Linked DNA regions of Homo sapiens: regions 2 and 3 are each linked to region 1. The links are contacts of gene promoters, found by promoter capture Hi-C in human tissues and cell types (Jung and others, 2019). All regions are on one chromosome and are shown on one strand. Each heading gives the region's core, a stretch centred on a gene start or on the middle of the fragment in contact. The rest is flanking DNA. Distances are from core to core; before and after follow the strand shown. Region 1 holds the start of SYT4 (synaptotagmin 4). Region 2 has its middle 56 kb from the start of SYT4. Region 3 has its middle 40 kb from the start of SYT4.

What was found. Contacts are between HindIII fragments. The study calls those that stand out against the background at their distance.
Region 2: a fragment that was not itself captured here is called in contact with the fragment with the promoter of SYT4 in region 1 in 2 of the 25 tissues and cell types used here (aorta and spleen).
Region 3: a fragment that was not itself captured here is called in contact with the fragment with the promoter of SYT4 in region 1 in 2 of the 25 tissues and cell types used here (dorsolateral prefrontal cortex and spleen).

Annotation. Positions count from the first base shown.
Region 1 is chr18:43,275,380-43,280,414 of GRCh38, reverse strand. It overlaps SYT4 (synaptotagmin 4), which reads left to right and starts at 2,925. Exons shown (of 4, transcript NM_020783.4): 1 at 2,925-3,167. The coding sequence starts at 3,134. The HindIII fragment of the contact is 4,332 bases long and covers 538-4,869 here.
Region 2 is chr18:43,219,115-43,224,149 of GRCh38, reverse strand. No RefSeq gene overlaps it. Among named protein-coding and RNA genes, the nearest start is that of SYT4, 56 kb to the left of the region's middle. The HindIII fragment of the contact is 3,401 bases long and covers 1,047-4,447 here.
Region 3 is chr18:43,234,739-43,239,773 of GRCh38, reverse strand. No RefSeq gene overlaps it. Among named protein-coding and RNA genes, the nearest start is that of SYT4, 40 kb to the left of the region's middle. The HindIII fragment of the contact is 4,002 bases long and covers 30-4,031 here.

The DNA.
Region 1 (5,035 bases), core at 1,676-4,175:
ATGTGTTGAAAGAAAATAAAGAAAAGAAGAATATAAGCTTTACTTATTTATTTGGTGGTTTGGTTTCACTGTCATATATGAACTATTAAATGCACATAGTAAATGCTGAATATGTTGAAGAAAAACAAATGTAGTAAAGGGATTTCTGTGATACCAAATGAAGAGGGATTTGTCTTGCAAGATTTTTACTTGGGTGTGTTTGTAATATAAATCTATTCCATTAGCATTATTGTCAGCATTCATAATATAATAATATGGAACATTGAAACAATTATCCATTTCCCATCATCAGATACTTCAGTCTACTCCACCCACATACCAGTAGGTAAAATGATATTTTAGTAAAGTGATATTTTATTACTAATGTAGGTATTACTAAAGATTACTGAAGATCATGGCAACATTTTCAAAACTTTTTGAAATTATATTTTTCTTAGCATGAGGTTCTAAATACTTTCACCAATAATATTTTTCAAAGAAAAGAGAAAATATAGACTGAACTATACAATTAATAAATAACATAAACAATAATTTAAAAATCAAAATATATACTAAATTTAATTACGTTATAAAATAGAATAAAAACATATAATTAGTCATCAATAGCTTTCAGATTAAACTGAATTTCTTAAAACTAAATTCAAGTGTTCTATTAATTGTTTCTCAAATTATGTATAGACATTTGCAATTGGAAAAGAAAGTAATGTGAAAGTTGAACCATTTTAACAGTGAAAAAATCATTCTGAAGTAAATACTGCCGCCTGCACAGAATGGTCTGTGTTTGCCAAAGCAAGAACTTGTTTGAGGCTGTGTGTTTTGGGTGGTGAAAAAGTGGTTACCTAGCAACAACTCCTCCTCCCAAGTCTCCCCTGCTAGAGCGGTATTTTGCACGTCAGTAAATTGGTTACTTGTTTGATGGATCTAAAAAGAATAATTCAGTAATGTGGTAGGGTGTGAATCTCAATCATAAAAACGTACAGGTTTTTCTCTGTGTGGGGTCTGTCTACTGCCCACTCCTCATCTGGTGTTGCTAGAAGCTTGTCTAAAGAGATTGAATAATACCTAAAATGTTATTCATCAAATGAAAATGAGGGAAACTTCAGGCATTTTAATTAATAACAGTTCTTTTCAGTTTGCTTATAAAGCAAGCAATGAAATAGTTACTTAGTCCACAATAGCATTAGCTCTGGGCAAGAGGTAATCTTATCACGATGTTTCCTCAGATGTCAGACAGCAAAGGATGGGGTGGGTTCCGTAGAAATAGAGTTTAAACAATCTGTACAGTTTACAGATAACAACATTATACCATCTGAAGGTAAAATTAATGAGATACTAATTTATAGAACAAACACATAAGGTATTTATGTTTACAACAAATGAGCTTAAACATATGTTAGCAATAACTTAGCTAGAAAATATATACTTTAGTAAACATCACACCATGTATTTGGTCCACCTATGATATGCATCACAAATAAATGCCACTTATTCTTTAACCTAATGGATATTTGTTTCTAGGGACAACCCTACAGGGTGCATGCATGCATAATTAAGGAAATAGGTAATCTGAATAAAGTGAAATGATAAAGACACAACCACAGACTCTGCCAGCAGAAAAATTAAATACAGCAAATTAGTTTGTGTGTTTTCAAAGCATGAAGATATAAAGTTTAAAAAAATCTGTTAGAGGAACACTCCAATGCCAAGTATGTGGGAGCAAATAGAATAGCAAAGAAAAAAGACTGGTTTATAAAATTTTCCATGATGCAAAGAACTGAAGCCAATTTCTCCCCAGACAGAGCCCTGATGCTCTGGGCTGCTGCTAGCCAATGTGCAGGGACCTGTCACTTGCACAGTAGCTTTCTGAGACTCACCCTGTATCCCTTCTCCCACATCCCAGCACACACTGAATGCCATTTCCTTATTAACTCCAGAGCAAAGAAATTCTTTGCAGAGCAATAATTGACAGTTGGAGTTACAGCTTGACTTCTTTCCTTTGAAAAATTGCTAAGCATTTGTTTTAGAAAGGCACACTCTTCAGATTCCAATGAATCAGAATCCGACACCATATTTTTCACAGTTTTTCACCTCCGAGAATATCATCAGTTTAGAAAAAGGAATGCTTTCCTTTGAAATAACCAATGTTACCAATGTTACTTTAGATGTTGGCCTGATTTTGGAAACTATTTTGTACAAACGTACTAGAAGTCAGGCCTTTTAACCATAAATGTCATTTCAGAAGCGCCTTATTATTTGCAAAAGTCATAACTGAGAGTGACTCTGAATATCCAAGGAATTATCCCCATCTGTTCCTAAGTGCTTTAACTGGTCAAATGTCAGATATTAAAGGGAAGAGAGCTGAGAGACCAGGAAAGATCAACTGTTCCAGCAAAATATTTAGACTAATAATTTATTAGAACATAAAGGATTATACTGGGAAAACTATCTTATATCAAATGCATCAATTTGTAGTGAATCTTTTCTAAATGTAATAAGTATCATAGGTATAACATGTCAAAGAAAAAAATTAAAAAGCAAGAAAACATGTTTTTGCATGTTAAAAAGAGTAATTTGAAGCAGAAACTTCTCCTCTGTAAGTTACGTTATTCTGAAAACTCAGAAACATATTTTTATTCATCTAGGTGATCAGGAGATTTTATATTAGGAACTGACAGGGATCAGTTTCGGGGCTTATCTCGGTGAGCCTCTGAGCCCCCACAAAACAGCAAAGCTAATCTCTAGTGGTCCAACAGTTAAAATAATTGATGAGCATGTGTTGAATCCTCAAGAGAGGAGGGAGGAAGCAAGAAGGAAAGCTTGAAGGGAGGAGGGGAGGGGGGCAGGTGCTGATTTCAGCCCTGTAGCGTCAGGATTGCGTCAATTCGGGTTCCAGCCACGTCTGGAGTCTCGGAGACGAGCTTCTCAGAAGAGCCAAAACAGGAACCGAGGTGGCAAATCACTGTGCGAGGGCGAGTGGACCTCCCTCTTTGCCTCCTCCCTGTTCCAGGAGCTGGTGCCCTGGGCTCTGCGCTGTTGTTTTCAGCGCTCCGAAAGCCGGCGCTTGAGATCCAGGCAAGTGAATCCAGCCAGGCAGTTTTCCCTTCAGCACCTCGGACAGAACACGCAGTAAAAAATGGCTCCGATCACCACCAGCCGGGAAGAATTTGGTAAGCAAGTTACTGAACTTATGACTGCGGTTATTCCTTGAATACTCTGGGGTGGACTGTTTATTCATTTATTTTTTGCCCGGTTGTTGAATACAGATTTCCTAGGTAGTTAATTTAAAAGGAAAATGAGAATGGCAGTCAGGCAATTGTGGCTTATTTCTGCAGCTTCTCTCCCTTCCTTGGTATCTCTCTCCCTGAAACTGTCTTCTGTTAGGGAGAATTTACCTTCAGGAAGTTCTTAAATTTTCAGGTACTTCTGTAAATTGCAGCATGTACTGAGTAAAGAAAAAGGGGTCTGTTTTTCCCATGTTGGTTTCATCTATTTTGTAGGTGATTCTTATTTGTAGGTAAATCTATATTTTATTAGGAGAAGATAAATATATCTCTGGTTACATTGGGGTTTGATCTTGGTTAAAAAAAGCAACTTGTCTATTGGGGTTTGGCAATGTATATTTTATTACAGGGCGTACCATATGGGTGTTTTTCTCTGCTATGTTTTTCTTGTATCCTTGAAATATGTTGCTAGTGAAAGACAGAATCATATGGTAGCAGGGTTAAAGAGAGTTTCAAAATGAACTGGCTCAGCCCATTTCATTTCACTGCTGAGCTAACCAAAGCCCAGAGAGATGAGGGAAGTATTATAGGTTGCACAATTAGCTAAAAGCTGCTGGAAACTTGAATTAGGGCTCCAATTTTCCCGTTCAGTTTTCCTTTTCTCACACCAAGTTTTTGGTTTCAGTACATAAAATTAGACGTACTTCATAGAGTAAAAAAGTACTATTTTTAGATCTCAGTATATTCCAAAGGAAAAAGGTCAGAATTTTACTTACACGTATTTTTTAAATCATGAAATTTCATAGAAGGTTGTGAAGAGGAGTGATATCTACAGATGTGTGATAATTGTTATTAAGCTGAGTAAAATAACTATGATCTTGACTTTCAAGATTGTAAGACCTTATCAGTAGAGAATACATAGGGAGTAGATAAGTGTTTCCACGTTATAGAAAATGTTTGCCATTTGACATAACTATTCAATAGGGACAATTTGTGATATTATGTTCATAAATGAATTTCTTTCCCAGCCTTCCATTTGGGTTATTGGGTTTATTTTGGTATGACATTTATTCCCAATTCTTCATTTGAAACCTGAATGATTTTCTAATATGGAGGAATTTTTAGAGACTGTGCCAGTGAAAATATGTTCTAGCATGGACTATCAGTCTACTTTTAAAAAATGATTTTCTACTGTTTTTATTGTTTTTACATTGGCTAAAGAACTCTCTCAGTTCATGACTTTGCTTTTGCTCCCTGGCCTTGGGTTATTATGGTCCAGGAATGTGGGTGCATTTTTTTTTCACAAAGACTTGAATAGAAGGAAAAACTGAAAAGCTGATACCAAGTTTAGCTGATTATCTTTAGCTCTTGCTTTATACTGTAGTAGTCACTGTTTCTTTTTTCCACCTGGAGAAGTCAAAGGTTTATTTCATCTTTACATGATTCAGTTTCTGTACATTAAAATACAGGATTTTTATTGCGATTTTATTGGCCTTTTTATCTTCTATTTCATTTGTCTTTTCTTAACCTTACATTCTCTGAGTTCAGTTTTATAATTGTGAAGTAGATTGGCAGAAGATTTGGGGGGATGGGGAAGGGAAGTAACAAAAGACTGGATTTCTTGTGGTTATTTAGAAAAGTTTTAACCCTTTCTGGGCTGGAACTTATAACTTTATTATTTACTATTCAGGATAAAAGCATATTGCAATGGAACTAAATGTATATAATATTACATTAGTTATTTTCACTTTGATGATATTAAGCATTGACTCTATGGATTCACTATGTATAGATGTAGTAATACTGCTTTTACT
Region 2 (5,035 bases), core at 1,498-3,997, 56 kb after region 1:
AAGATACTTTCACATGCATGTTCATAGCAGCACAATTCACAATTGCAAAATCATGGAACCAACCCAAATGCCCATCAATCAATCAGTGAATGAAGAAACTTTGGTACATATATATGATGGAATACTATGGAGCCATAAAAACGAACGAATTAACAGCATTTGCAGTGACCTGGATGAGATTGGAGACTGTTATTCTAAGTGAAGTAACTCAGGAATGGAAAACCAAACATTGTATGTTCTCACTGATATGTGGGAGCTAAGCTATGAGAACACAAAGGTATATGTATAATACAGTGGACTTTGGGGACTCAAGGGGAGGAGTGAGAGGAGGGTGAGGGATTAAAAGGCTACAAATGTGGTACAGTGTATACTGCTCAGGTGATATGTGCACCAACATCTCACAAATCAACACTAAGGAACTTATTCATGTAACCAAATATGACCTGTGCCTCAATAACTTATGGAAAAAATTTTTAAAAAGTCACTCACAAAAAAATAAATAAATATCCTTGCAGGAATGAACCATTCCTTACATACGTAAAATTCTTTAATGCCTAGTATTAATGGCTATCATTCATTGAATCTGTGTGTTACGGACTTAAAAAATCTCTAATCCCTATGCCATTGCTACAAAGAAGATATGATTCACCTTCTATATCCCTATTCCTGCTTTTTTTAAAACAAAATTTATAGAAAGTGCAATTAAGTAATTTATTCAAAATCTCACGGGTAATATGTGGTAGAACAGACTGAAAACTAAGTCTATAAGAGTTTAAATCCTACACCTTTTCCATTACATCACATTCATAGAATCTCATTTTATGTAACACAATTTTAGATTTCTGTGGTACACAGTGTATATTAACATTAAAGCTTACAGGTGATGAAAGGACTCTAAAAGGAAATAGAAGGCATAGTCAATTACACAAAATTTGCAATAATAATTTGATATTTTCCAAACCATTCTTTGAATATACAGTTATTTGTAGTAATTTCTTTTGTGGTACTTTATGTTAATACAAGTTATTATCTAATTGTTATACAAAAGGGTGATGAGTCACGAAAAATGAATAAGTAACATAATATCCATTACTTCAGTTCTAAAAAAGAGATGTTCAGGGTTATTAAATACAAATATATTATTTAACAATTAGTAATGATGGGGAACATCTGTTAATTGTTTATGTTGTGCTCATTACTACGTTAACCATGAAAAAAGCTTTATCACATTTAATTCTCACCTCATCTCTCATCATTAGGGAAACAAGGGTTTAGGGGATTTAAGTATCTTACCTGATGCTATGGTTTGAATGTGTCTCCAAAACTCCTATTAAAACTTAATCCCCATGTGCCAGTGTTGAGAGATGGGGCTTTTAATAGGTGATTGAATTGTGAGGGAGAGAGTTCATGAATGGATTACTCCATTTATGTATTAATGAATTAATGGCTCATGAATTAAGAAGAGAAAGGGAGACTTGAGCCAGCACATTAACATGCTCAGCTCCCTCCGCATGTGATATCCTATGACACATCAGCAGTCTTCAGAGGGTCTCCATTAGCAAGAAGGCTCTCGCTGGCAGCAGTGGCTCACAACTGTAATTCTAGTAGTTTGGGAGGCTGAGGTGAGAAGATCACTTGAGGCCATGAGTTCAAAACAAGTTTGGTCAACATACTGAGACTACGGTCTCTACAAAAAAATAAAAATAAAAAAATAAATAAAAAAGTTGGACATGCTGGTTGTGTATTCTTATAGCCCCAATTACTCAGGAGGCTGAGGTGGAAGGATCACTTGAACCTATGTGGTCAAAGCTGCACTGACCTATGATGACACGAATGATTATGCCACTTAACACAGCAAGATCCTGATTCTTTTTAAAAAATAGAAAAAGGCCAGGCGCGGTGGCTCACTCCTGTAATCCCAGCACTTTGGGAGGCCCAGGTGGGCGGATCACGAGGTCAGGAGATCGAGACCATCCTGGCTAACACAGTGAAACCCCGTCTCTACTAAAAATACAAAAAATTAGCCGGGCGCGGTGGTGGGTGCCTGTAGTCCCAGCTACTCGGGAGGCTGAGGCAGGAGAATGGCGTGAACCTGGGAGGCAGAGCTTGCAGTGAGCCGAGATAGCACCACTGCACTCCGGCCCGGGTGAAAGATCGAGACTCTGTCTCAAGAAAAATAAAAATAAAAAAATAAAAATAAAGAAAAGGCCAGGTGCGGTGGCTCACGCCTGTAATCCCAGCACTTTGGGAGGCTGAAGCAGGCGGATCATGGGGTCAGGAGATTGAGACCATCCTGGCTAATACGGTGAAACCCCATCTCTACTAAAAATACAAAAAATTAGCCGGGCGTGGTGGCAGGCGCCTCTAATCCCAGGTACTCAGGAGGCCGAGGCAGGGGAATCATTTGAACCAGGTAGGCGGAGGTTGCAGTGAGCCGAGATCGCATCACTGCGCTACTGTACTCCAGCCTGGGTGATAGAGTGAGATTCCGTCTCAAAATGAATAAATAAATAAATAGAGACCAGGTGCGTTGCCTGGCGCCTATAATTCCAGCACTTTGGGGTGCCAAGGTGGGAGGATCGTTTGAACCAAGGAATTTGAGACCAGCCTGGGGAACATAGTGAGACCCTGTCTCTACAAAAATAAATAAATAAATAAAAACTAGCCAGGCATGGTGGCTCATGCCTGTAGTCCCAGCTACTTGGGAAGCTGAGTCAGGAGAATCACTTGAGTCCAGGAGGTCAAGTCTGCAGAGAGCTGTGTTCGTAGTACTGCACTCCAGCCTGGGCAACAGAGCCAGGCTTTGTCTTTAAGAAAAAGAAAAAAAAAAAAACAACAATGCTCTCACCAGATGGAGTTCTTAAACCCTGAACTTCCCAGCCTCTGTAACTGTAAGAAATAAGTTCATTTTCTTTGTAAATTGCCATTTTAGGTATTCTATTATAAGCAACAGAAAACAGACTAAGACAGAAAATTGGTACTGAGAAGTGAGGTGTTGCTGTTAACAGTTATGTAAAAATGTGGAATTGGTTTGCGAATGGGGCATTGGGCAGCTGCTGAAAAAAATTGGAGGAGCAGACTAGAAAAAGCTTAGATTCTGGTTAGATGTTAGAATACAAGAAGACTAGGGAAATTTCAGAATCCTTACAAATTGGTTAAAGTTTCAGAACCAGAAAGCTGATAGAAATACAGGGAGTAAAGTCCATTCTGATCAAGTTTTAGATAGAGCTGAGGAAAAAGGTATTGGGAACTGGAATAAAGCCCATCTTTGTTACAAATTGGCAAATAACTTGACTGAACTGTGTCCATGCTTGAGGGCTTTGTAGAAGGCTTAATTTGAGAGTGATGGTCTAGGGTATCTGGCAGAAGAAATTTCTAAGCAAAATATAGAAAGAGGTGCATGATTACTTTCAGCTATTTAAACTAAGATTTGGGGAGCAAAGAAATAATGTAAATACAGAATTTATAATTAAAAAGGAAGCAGAGTAGAAACATTTGGAAAATTCTCAGCCTGGCCACACAGAGAGTCAAAAAATGTGCTCAGAAGTATAAATCAAAGGTGTAGTTTTGCTAAAGATATTAGCACTAATAGAAGGGAGCCAGGTGCTAACTTTCAAGACAGTGGGGAAAAAAAGGCCCTGAAAGCATTTCAGAGATCTTTGAGGCTTTTCCTTCCATTACAGGCACAGAAGCCTAGGAGTGCAGAATGATTTCAGGCGACAGGCCCAGAGTGCTCTTTATGAGCTTGCTACCAAGGACTCCTTCGGGACTCTCTTCCCTACATCTGGGCACAGCACTTTGGGGCCACACTAGCCAAGACCCTAGTGGCCCCAAGTGTGGTTCATGCAGCAGCTCCAGACAGTACAAGTCAGAAACCTTAATTTGTCCATGTGGTGCTGATTCTTCAAGCTTACAGAAAGTAAGAGCTATAAAAGCTTGGAAGCCTCCAACCAGATTTCAAATGATGTTGTCAAAAGCCTGAGAGCTCAGACAGAAACTCGTCATGGGGCGGAGCCACTGCAGACAGCCCTCACTAGAGCAATGCCCAGTGGAAATGTGGGGTTGCAACTGCTAAAAAGAGTCCCCACCAGGGCAATGTTTACTGAAACCATGAGAGCAAGATCACCACCCGGTCCCCATTGGGTAATGCCTGGGGGAGCTGTGGAAGCAGGACTGCCGCTGAGCCCCCAGAACTTCAGAACTATCAGAGTGCAATGACAGCCTGGGAGAGCTGGGTGAACCAAGCCCAACAAAGCCATAGTTGCAGGGTTGCCTGAGGTCTCAGGGCCCAACCCCTACACCAGTGTACAAAAGAATTATTGGATGTGGAGTCAAGGGAGAATATTCTGGAGCTTTAAGACTCAATGCCTGATAAGTTGGGCTTCATACTTGCTTGGAGTTTGTTACTCCTTTCTTCTTGACTACTATTTCTCCCTTTTCAAATGGGAATGTGTACCCTATGCTTTTCTAACCGTTGTACCTTTGGAAGCAGATAACTTGTTTTGATTTCACATTTTCATAGGTGACACTCTTAACTTTGAACTTTTGAGTTGGTGCTGGAAAAAGTTAAGATTCTGAAGCTATGTGATGGGATTTGTAGGTAAGAAAAACAAGAGTTTTTGTGGGGAGGGCCAGAGGCAGATACTATGGTTTAAATATTTGTGTTCCCCAAAACACATTTTGAAATTTAATCCCTCACGAGGCATTATTCAAGGGTAGGGCTTTTAAGAGGTGATTGGCAGAGCTCTCATGAATGGATTAATTCATTAATTGATTAATTGGTTACCAGGGAAGTGGGGCTGGTTTCTTTATAAGAAGAGGAAGAGAGACCTGAGCTAGCACATTAGCACTTGGCCGCCTCATCGTGTGATAACCTGCACTGCCTCGAGACTCTACAGAGAGTCCTCACCAGCAAGAAAGCTCTCACCAGATGCAGCCCTCTAACCTTGGACTTCTAAGCTTCCATAATCGTAATAAATAAATGTCTTTCTTTATAAATTACTCAGTTTTAGGTATTGTTTTGTAAGCAACAGAA
Region 3 (5,035 bases), core at 781-3,280, 40 kb after region 1:
AATGGAGATGCAAAAGGTAAGTTTCATCAAATTTTGAAGATAGATCAATAAAACCTATCCTAACTGAAGAACAGAGAGAAAAATAATTAGTCAATGGAGCAAGCTGTCCTGAATCACAAAAAGTGAAAATCTCTCATACTAAAAAGAATTGATACCATATTGGTCTGATGAGAGCTAATTCAACCAAAATAACCACAATGAACAGTCTAGGTAGCCACCAGATAGAAAGAGAGCACCCTTCTCTGCAAATGGACAAATAGAAAAACATGGATCACCTACATTTTAAGATAGCATGTGTAGTTTTTTACCCCTTTCCCAAGGGAATGTGTGTGTGTGTGTGTGTGTGTGTGTGTGTGCATGTGTGTCTGTGTGTCTGTATGTATGTGTGTATATATGTCAATAGGAAAGTTTAGCCTAGATAGATGAGGTACATTTAGATTGGGTACCATGTTATTTTGCTGAATAATCCTATAATAACTACAAGTTATTTGAAAAGGCTCCTTCTCATTATTTTTTATTTATTATCTTAAAACCAGTGGAATGAATTTAATGAGACTTTCTCAAGGTTCTTTTCCCCTTAGAGCTTTGACAGTATGCAATAAGCTTTTTGTTGCTGTTGTTTTGAGGCTGTCCCTGTTATGGAAAATTGCTAATCACAACGAGTATATTTGAGATAAATCTAGGTTCCTTCTATCCAAAATGTCAACCCAATTTACATGTCAGTCATTAGCATTGGAAATAAAGTTTACCTCAATATCTTGCAAATGAGAAGAGTAGAACAGTGAAAGTCTTAATAAGATATTTATGAAACACCAAGGTTTCTAAAGCAATATCATAAATTAAAATAAAAATGAGAAGGGTGGGGCAAAATGCAGAATAGAAGACTACGCCATTTGTTCCCCGCCACCCCCACAGGAATATCAAATTTTAACAACTATCTGCACTCAAAAAATACCACAAGAACCAAAAATTAGGTGAGTAATCACAGTATCTGGTTTTATCTTCATATTGTTAACAGAGGAATTGAATAGGGTCAGAGAGACAGACTTGAATCACCAATGTCATGCCTCCCTTATTCCCTGGCAGTAGCCTTGTGGTGTGGAAATTCTCTGCACTTTGGAGAGGGGCAACACAGTGACTGGAGGACTTTGTACTGAATTTGGCACTGCCTTGTCGTAGCAGAGAGCAAAGTCGTGTAGGGCTCAGCCAATACCCATGTGTGAAAGGAGTATTTGAATAAGCCCTAGCCAGAGGGGAATCACCCCTCCTAGTAGTTGAAAATTGGGTTTCTCAGCAAGCCTTGCTACCACAGACCAAAGTGCTCTGGGATCCTAGGTAAACTTTAAAACACAAGCATAGCAATTTTTAAGCAAGTCCTAGGGCAGAACTGGGCTCAGAGACAGGGGACTAGTGTGGCACATGACCTAAGGAGACACGAGCCAGAGCAGCTAAGGAAGGGCTTGTGCCACCCCTACCCAAACCCCAGGCTGCACAGTTTGCAGCAATGAAAGTAACCCCTTTCTTCTGCTTAAGGAGAGGAGATCAAAGAGTAAAGAGAACTATACCAGCTCAGCCACAGTAGGATACGGCACTGGGTAGAGTTGTGAGGTCCCCATTCTAAGCCCCAGCTCATGGATGACATTTCTAGATACCCTGGGCCAAAAGAGAACCTGCTGCCTTGAAAGAAAGTCTAGAAGGACTCATCTCTCACTGACTAAAGAGCGCTTGGACCCAGAATAACCAGCAACAACACCCAGGTAGAACCCATGGGTATGCCATGGGCTTTGGGCTCTGAGACATGCTGACATCAGGTGTGACTCCAACACTGTTGCTGTGGTGGTTACAGTGAAAGACTCCTTCTGTTTTAGAAAAGCAGAGGAAAAATTAAAAGTAAAGGGAACTTTGTCCTTCACCTTAGCTACCAGCTTGACCACAGTGGAGTAGAGCAACAAGCCAGCTCTTGGGGACCCTGAGTGTAGGACTTGGATCTTTAACAACATTTCTAGGCTGCTCTGGGCCAGAGGGGATGTCATTTCCCTGAAGGTTGAGTCCCAGGCCTGGCAGTATTCATCACAAGCTGACTAAAGAGCCCTTGGGCTTTAAGTGAACATCAGGGGTGGTCTGGCAGAATGCCTATGAGCCAGTGGTGATGATACCCATAGGGAGAGGCTCCTCTGCCTGTGGAAAAGGAGAGAAGAGTGGGAATAACTTTGTATTGTGGTTTGAGTGCCAGGTTACCCACAGTAGAATAGAACATAAGGCAAATTTCTAAGGTTTTTGACTGTAATCCCTGGATCCCAGGAGTATCTCTGGACCTACCCATGGCCTGGGGCAACTTGCTGCCCTGAAGAGGATACAAACCTGGCTGGCTTCATCACCTGCTGATTGCAGTGCCCTATGGCCTTGAGTGAACATAGGCAGTAGCCAAGTATTGGTTGCAGTGAGCCTTAAGTGAGACCCTTGTGCTGGCTCCAGGTCTCATCCAGCACAGTCCCAGCTGTGGTAGCCACAGGGATGTTTGCATCACCACACCCCTAGTTCCAGGTTGCTCAGCACAGAGAGCGAGATTATATTTGCTTGGGAGAAAGAGGAAAGAACAAGAGTCTCTGTTGGGTAATCCAGGGAATTCCTCTAGATCTTATCTAAGATCACCAAGGGAGTGCCTCTATGAGTCTGCAAAAACAACAATGCTATTGGGTTGAATAGCCGTTGAATGCCTAGAATGCCTCCTCAAGAAGAACTGACACATACAAGCTCAGACTGCAAAGACTACAATAAATACTCTCCAATGTCCAGAAGTAGATAAACATCTATAAGCAAGCATCAAGTCAAGAAAAACATGACCATGACAAATGACCTGAATAAGGCAGTATAGACCAATCCTGGAGAAACAAGGATATGTGACCTTTCAAACAGAGAGTTCAAAATAGCTATGTTGAGGAAACTCCATGAAATTCAAGATAACAGAGAAGAAATTTAAAATCCTATCAAATAAACTTTAAAAAGAAATTGAAATAATAAAAAAGAATTAAGTAGATATTCTATAGTTTATAAATGCAATGGACATACCGAAAAATGCACCAGAGTCTCTTAATAGCAGAATTTATCAAGCAGAAGAAACAATGAACTTGAAGACAAGCTATTTAAAAATACACAGTAAAAGGAGACAAAATAATTTGAAAAAATAAAAACAATGAAACACATCTACAAGATTTAGAAAATAGCCTCGACAGGGCAACTCTAAGAGATTTTGGCCATAAAGAGGATTTAGAGAAAGAGATGGGGTAGAAAGTTTATTCAAAGGGATAACAACAGCAAGCTTCCCAAATGTAAAGAAAGATATTAACAGTCTAGGACAAGAGGTTATAGAACACAAAGTAGATTTAACCCAAAGAAGCATACTTCAGAGTATCTAATAAGCAAAATCTCAAAGGTCAATAATAAAGGATCCTAAAAGAAGCAAGAGAAAAGAAACGAGTAACACACAATGGAGCTCCAATATATCTGTTAGCAAACTTTTCAGTGGAAACCTTACAGGCCAGGAGAGAGTGGCGTGAGGTATTTAAAATGCTAAATAAAAAAACTTTTACCATAGAATAGTATATCCAGTGAAAACATCCTTCAAACATGAAGAAGAAATAAAGACCTTCCCAGACAAACAGAAGCTGAAGGATTTCATTGACATTAGACCTGTCCTACAAGAAGGGTTAAAGGAAGTTCTTCAAACTGAAAGAAAAAGATTTTAATGAGCAAGAAGACATCATGCAAAGGTACAAATCTCACTGGTAATAGTAAGTATACAAAAAAACACAGAATATTGTAACACAGTAATTGTGGTGTGTAAACTACTCTTATTAATACTTTCAGTAGAAATACTAAACAATGAACCAAAAATAATATTTATAATTTTCAAGACGTAGTACAATAAAACGAAATAGAAACAACAAAAATTAAAAAGTGAGAGGATGAAGTGAAAGTGTAGATTTTATATTAGTTTTTGTGTGTTTGTTTATGCAATTAGTGTTAAGTTGTCATCAATTTAAAATAATGGATTATAAGATAGTATTTGCAAACCTTGTGGTAACTTCAAGTTGATAAACACTCTAAAGATACACAAAAATAAAAAGCAACGAATTTAATCATACCGCCAGAGACAATTAGCTTCACTAAAAGAAAGACAGGAAGGAAAGAAGAAAGGAAGACAAAACCAGAAAACAGATAATACAATGGCAGGAATAAGTCCCTCCTTATCAATAATAGCATTGGATGTAACTAGAAAAGCAGGAGCAAAGCAAATCCAAAATTAGTAGAAAAAAGAAATAATAAGTATGATATCAATAATAAATGTATTTGAAAAAAATTCAAAAGATCACAAAAAACAGATACATAGACCAATGGAACAGAATAGAGAACCTGAAAAAAATCTAAATACTTATAGTGAACTCAAGGTGTCAAGAATATACACTGGGGGAAAGACTATCTTTTCAATAAATGATGCTGGAAATCTGGACACCCGTATGCAGAAGAATGAAACTAGATTGATATCTCTTGCCACATATAAAAATCAAATAAAAATGGACTAAAGGCTTAAATCTAAGACCTCAAAACTGTGAAACTACTACCAGAAAACATTGAGAAACTCTCCAGGACTTTGGTCTGGGCAAAAATTTCCTGAGTAATAACCCACAAGCACAGGCAACCAAAGCAAAAGTACACAAATCAGATCACATCAAGATAAAAAGCTTTTGCAGACTGGGCATGGTGGCTCACACCTGTAATCCCAGCACTTTAGGAAGCCAAGGTGGGCAGATTGCTTAAGCCCAGGAGTTTGAAACCAGCCTGGGCAACATGGCAAAAATCTGCCTCTACGAATAATACAAAACTTAGCTGGGCATGGTGGCATGTGCCTGAAGAGTGAGCTACTCAGGTGGCTGAAGTGAGAGGATTGCTTGAGCTCAGGAGTTCAAGGCTGAGGTGAGTTATGATCATGCCACTGACACTGCACTCCAGCCTGGGAGATAGAGCAAGACCCTGA